2 separate regions of the Homo sapiens genome follow, and region 1 is linked to region 2. The links are contacts of gene promoters, found by promoter capture Hi-C in human tissues and cell types (Jung and others, 2019). All regions are on one chromosome and are shown on one strand. The core of a region is centred on a gene start or on the middle of the fragment in contact, and the rest is flanking DNA. Distances in the headings are between cores, read along the strand shown.

Region 1 (3,085 bases), core at 346-2,845, 230 kb after region 2:
CCTCCCAGAGTGCTGGGATTACAGGCGTGAGCCACTGTGCCCGGCCGCATTACATTGTTAAAGAAAAAGTTATTCTTGACACTTGTTAAAGATGGTAAGGCAGACTTCATTCAAGGGGGGACCATTGCGATAGGTATAGGGACCACTGCAAATGCAGTGGGATTTTGCAGTAAGGGAGAGAGGTTAAGCCCAATTCCAAATACAACAAGGAAAAGTGGGAATTTATAGCCAATGAGCAAGGGTGGGTGTTAGTAGATGGAAAATTACTAAGAGGTAAGGGAAGATTCTGGCTAAACTGACCTAACAGGATTCTTGCTGAAGTCAGGGAAGAGTGATCATCATCCAGGGGATAGTGGAAGATGAAGAACCCAGTTAGGTTTTGAGGGTGATCACATGGCAAGGACGGGGAATTCTGGCTAACCTGACTTAGCAGGGTTCTTGCTTAAATTGGACAATGCAGAGGTAAATACCAGAAGCCCAAAGTCAGGGCCTACTTGAGAAGAAAGTTCAGAGGAGCCTGAGTAGTTGGGTCAAGGAGAGATTCTTTGTCAACATGTTAATTCTGTTATTTTAACATTAAAAATTCATAGCCTATTTGGAATTTATGGAAATACGGTGTGGCAGATATTCTGTGAAACCTTTTTACCAGTTAAAAAAAAAAAACCAAACACCTAGATACCCAATAAAATCACTTAAGATACTTTAAATGCATTGGCAAGCCTGGAAGAAAGTAAAGGGTGTTCCAAAAGGCAAACTGAACAATGATCCCAAACTTAGAGAATTAAAGAGGGGACAAAACACAGAGGCTGGAGGTATGTGCCTCCAGGAACTAGAGCTTTGGGAATAACAGCTCTGTAAGAGGAGGATCTGCCACAGTGTAGGCTGCTGAATTTGAGACCCTGGCATAAACTCTAAATCTCCACAAGGATTACACCTTCAGTAAAGAAAGAATGGGTTTGAAAATAAATCTCTTGTGATACAGGAGCCTTATGGGGAACTGTCTGTTTCCATCCTGGCTGGGGCATAGTGTGTATGATAGGGGAGCTACTTCAGGGAGTACTATGTATGGAATTTTCCACTTGTGTCATGTTAGCACTAAAAGTTTTGAACTTCAGAGCATTTTGCATTTTGGACTTTTGGTATGCTCAACCTGTATTCCATGTTACGGATATACCACAGTTTAGCCATTCACCCATCGAAGGACATTTGGATAGTTTTTAGTTTTTGGCTATTACAAATAAAGATGTGTTTACATTTCTATGTGAAAAATGCATTTTCATTTTTCTGGGAGAAATGCCAAGAGGTTGTATTGTATTTTAATTTAGATATAAATATTTAGATATTAATTCTTTAGCTTGATTATAGTGCTGAAAGTCACTTTACTAGCATTATTAGAAAAATAATACTAGGGGCCAGGCGTGGTGGCTCATGCCTGTAATCCCAGCACTTTGGGAGGCCAAGGTGGGTGGATCACTTGAGGTCAGGAGTTCAAGACCAGTCTGGCCAACATGGTGAAACTCCATCTCTACTAAAAATACAAAAAAATTAGCCAGGCATGGTGGTACACGCCTGTAGCCCCAGCCACTTGGGAGGCTGAGGCAGAAGAATTGCTTAAACCCGGGAGGTGGAGGTTGCAATGAGCTGAGATCATGGCACTGCACTCCAGCCTGGGCGACAGGGCAAGACTCTGTCTCAAAAAAAAAAAAAAAGAAAAAAGAAAATAATACTAGGAAATATTTCAGTAGGTCGTGAGTTCAAAGTAAGTCTCAAGGTAAATTAAGCTTCAGGAGTATAGCTAAGAGATGGCTGTCAAGTCATATTTTTTAGAAGCTAAAATTGTGGGTATTTGTTTTTAAAATAATATGTAGCTTGCAGATAATGGCTGTCGTTTAGGCTAATAAGTCTGCTTTTTATCCAGTAATCTTGTCTAAAGTATCCAGTATACAAGTTCAGTCATCACGTATTTGAGGCCAGGTACAGTGGCTCACACCTGTGATCCTAGCATTTTGGGAGGCTAAGGCAGGAGGATCGCTTGAGGCCAGGAGTTCAAGATCACCCTGGTCCACATAGCAAGACTCCATCTTACAAAAAGATTGCCTGATGTTTATAGTGCACTGGACATTACAAGGGAAACTTTTGCGGTTGTTGTTGGCATATTCTTCAGGATATTACTACTGATGTTTAGTTGCCACTAGAGTATTTGTATTACTGAATTTTTACACCATTGAATTTACTGTGTTTTTATTCACAGAAAGATGAGCCAGATGCTTTCAAAGAGCTGGGGACAGGAAATAGAATTGCTACATGGCTGTTTTATGTAAGTCGTCACTAAAATTTTTAGATTAAGTTGGGATTTGATGACAAGATTCATTTTAATGTTTTAAGTTTGTTCTGTGTAGCTCTGATTCAGCATCCTAGTTTAACATTTTTACAACTGAATAAAGTGAGTTAAGAATTATTTTGCACTTGCAACTTTTTCAGGCTATAAGATAGATGTTCATTATAGAAACTTCTGGACAAACTTAGAATTTATAGTGCCACTACCTGCAGATAATCATTAATATTTTAACATATAGTCTCTCTGTTTAGTAATATATAATATGTGTATATAAAAATCTCTATATATTTGAATTTCTATACATACACATACACATTATTTCAGTAAACTTCTGAATTACATTTTTTTATTGAAGTATATCAGAAGAGTGCGCAAATTAAGTATTATAACTTAATTTTCACAAAGTGAACACTTCTGGTGTATTCAGTACTAAGATGAAGAAATAGCATATTACAACCCCCAGAAACCCTATCTCAGAGTTTTAAAACAGTATGATCATAATTCAATTTTTAAAATTGTTTATATATTTTTATATATGGAAAAAAGTTTTGATTGTAGTGTTTGTTCTAGTTACCCCAAATAAAGCACTCCAAAACTCTCCTTTCTGAGTGGTTTAAAATAACAACGATTTTCTTAATGTATCTCTAACAGTTATGAGGTTGACTGGGCTCAACTCATGGTTCCTGCTCCAAATCTGACATGTATTTGCCGTCAAATGCCTGGCACTGGGGTATCTTGAAGGCTAAG
Region 2 (2,969 bases), core at 162-2,661:
TCTCCGTTTTACAGATAGGGAAGCTGAGGCCTAGAGGTGGAAACTTGCCCAGTGATGTAAGATTCATCTCCCGGTTATGCCCTCCTGGAAAGCCCTTCCCAACATATTATGTTGTCCATAGAGGGAAAAATGAGCAAAGACAGATGGCTTAACTCTGGTGTGTGACTAAGATATAGGAAATTTATAGAGGAGGTTCTATCAATGTGCCGACTTACTTTGTGTTTTATGTTCTGAGAACGATTACCAGCCATCTCAAATTCTGTGGTTGTCAAAGCTCCCCTGGGGTTGTTGCTGGTTGGCCCCCACTTGCTTTGAGACTTTGATGCCAGGGCAGGTTGAGAGGAACTGACTTCAGCTGAGTTTGATCTTGGATCTGGGAAAGAGAAATGCTTTGAAAATCACGGCAACTCTGGGAAGTTTAAAAGATATTAATGTATCCTGGAGAGTTTGAGGCTTTGCAGAAACTTATTGGCAGAGCAGAATGATTCTGAAAAATGCTACATCAGTGAGGGGATATTTGATAAGGTATTTTCTGCCAACTCGGGTATTCACTTAGCATTGTTTATCCTTTAAGATATGTATACACATACTTCCTCTGTGAGTTTACCCTACTAACAAAGTTTTATCCCCAGCCTCAACCTTGCTTTGGGTCTCCAGGCCCAAGTTTCTCACCATCTCTTGGATGATTGCTCCAGCCCACTCTGCTGCCACCTGGGATCCAACATGTTCAAACCCAGCTGTGAACTTCACAGAGTATTAAAAGAAAGAGCCTTTGCTTCAGCAGTTTATGTTATTAAGACGGAGGCTTGGGTCATGTTATCTCTCTCCACCAATGTGTAAGGTGAAAGTCCTATTAGGTAAGAGTTTTTGGAAGACCCGTGTTTTGTGCTTTTTGGGTTTCAGTATAGGGTTTTTTCCTACAGGGCTAGAGGGAAAGTACCCCAGCATTTCCAACCAGTGGGGTGCAAAATTATTTGGGTCTACAGCTTTACCTATTCCTTTCAAGAACATTTTTGAAAAAACACATCTGTTAAGTTGAACCATGTGTAACTGCTGAATGCTGATGTTTGGCCGTTTTCTACTTAAAAAAATAGGCCAGCAGTTTGTAAATTCAAGCTAATATATGAACTTTTTGAAAAAGTTGTTCTTGGACACTAAAAGGTAAGACGGACGCCAGATTTCCAGAGCAAGGGGAGGAGAGACCCGAGCAACATCACTTCCCTGAAGACCTAGCTCCTGCGCGCGGCCGGGGACTGTGACTCCACATGCCGGCGTTACTTACCCGGGCCCGCGCCTGACTCGCCACACCTCATTTTGCGGCCGCCGTAAAGCGCGGATGCGCGGCGTGGCCACGCCCCTTCAGTGCTTGTGACGCAGGCGCCCTGGGCTTTTTGGGCGCGAAAAAGAAGCAGTCCTGGGTTGTACCCGGCGCAGCTGGGAGCGGCTGCTTCCTCCGGGGTCGTATCTCCGCCCGGCATGGGGCTGCTGGACCTTTGCGAGGAAGTGTTCGGCACCGCCGACCTTTACCGGGTGCTGGGCGTGCGACGCGAGGCCTCCGACGGCGAGGTCCGACGAGGCTACCACAAGGTGTCCCTGCAGGTACACCCGGACCGGGTGGGTGAGGGCGACAAGGAGGACGCCACCCGCCGCTTCCAGGTATGCAGGGTCCCGCCCCGAAGCCGACCGGCTGCGCGGGCCTCCCCCTAGCCTTTTGGCTACCGGGCCCCGCCCCGGGGGAGCGCGCTGAGCTCCGCTTGGCGCCTTCTGATCTTTATTTCTCGCGCCGCCGTTTCGGTGGGAGGAGCAGGGGTGATTTACGGATACTCTTTGCCCTCAGATCCTGGGAAAAGTCTATTCCGTTCTCAGTGACAGAGAACAGAGAGCAGTGTACGATGAGCAGGGAACAGTGGACGAGGACTCTCCTGTGCTCACCCAAGACCGAGACTGGGAGGCGTATTGGCGGCTACTCTTTAAAAAGGTAAAGGACTCTGGAGGTTTCTTTGTGACTGTTACCATCATTCAATCAACAAACCTTTATTGACTGCCTCTAAGATCTTGTATTTTGTGTTAATTTTGTAGGAATTAGGAATTTTGAGTTTGGCCTTGAAATACAGATACACGCACGCTTACTGAAACGGGCTTTAAATTTCCTGTTAATGTGATTGTTGCACTGAAAAGGGCCGATTTATTTTTTTTGCCGGATGCGCTTTATTTTACATATCCAAATGTAAGTCCTGATTCCGGATCACCTCTCACTCTTGGAAATTTCACTTAAATTTCCCTTCCCTGGTCCCTAGTTAGCAGTTAATGAAGATTGGATTTAAAAAGGAGGACTCCGGAGAAGCTTAGGCATAGAAAATCTGGTTCAATAATTTCAACTCAAGCAACTGTTGTATTGCAGCAATTCAACACCCAACTCTAGTTTTACTAACGTACGTTTTATTTAAAGTAAAATTCCCAAAGTTAAAGCAAATCTCCTTTATCATCAGATATCTTTAGAGGACATTCAAGCTTTTGAAAAGACATACAAAGGTTCGGAAGAAGAGCTGGCTGATATTAAGCAGGCCTATCTGGACTTCAAGGGTGACATGGATCAGATCATGGAGTCTGTGCTTTGCGTGCAGTACACAGAGGAACCCAGGATAAGGAATATCATTCAGCAAGCTATTGACGCCGGAGAGGTCCCATCCTATAATGCCTTTGTCAAAGAATCGAAACAAAAGATGAATGCAAGGAAAAGGAGGGTAAGATTTTGAATACTGTGGATTTATATTTTGACTGCTTCCAAAAAGGATTTGAGAGTATTTACAGCAGTAGAAGTAAACATAAAACTCCAGAAATAAGGACTAGGGTTAACTTGGTCTATAGTTTCGATCTAATAAAATGGGCATACCAGTTCATCAAGAGAAACTTTTTCTAGCATGTTGTGCTCAAGATGATTTTTATTGCATAGATTGTTTAAATATTAC

The links. The method cuts DNA at HindIII sites, captures the fragments that hold promoters and counts their contacts. A contact is called where the count stands out against the background at its distance.
Region 1: a contact is called between a fragment that was not itself captured here and the fragment with the promoter of DNAJC9 in region 2, in 1 of the 25 tissues and cell types used here (liver).

The regions. Positions count from the first base shown.
Region 1 is chr10:73,013,456-73,016,540 of GRCh38, reverse strand. It overlaps P4HA1 (prolyl 4-hydroxylase subunit alpha 1), which reads left to right. Exons shown (of 15, transcript NM_001017962.3): 12 at 2,252-2,317. Among named protein-coding and RNA genes, the nearest start is that of PLA2G12B, 60 kb to the right of the region's middle. The HindIII fragment of the contact is 5,698 bases long and covers 1-3,085 here.
Region 2 is chr10:73,245,697-73,248,665 of GRCh38, reverse strand. It overlaps DNAJC9 (DnaJ heat shock protein family (Hsp40) member C9), which reads left to right and starts at 1,411. Exons shown (of 5, transcript NM_015190.5): 1 at 1,411-1,656; 2 at 1,838-1,978; 3 at 2,490-2,744. The coding sequence starts at 1,477. DNAJC9-AS1 (DNAJC9 and MRPS16 antisense RNA 1) reads right to left here and starts at 1,299. Exons shown (of 4, transcript NR_038373.1): 1 at 1,283-1,299; 2 at 216-373. RefSeq lists enhancers at 1,165-1,504, 770-1,969 and a silencer at 1,705-1,854. The HindIII fragment of the contact is 4,197 bases long and covers 1-2,969 here.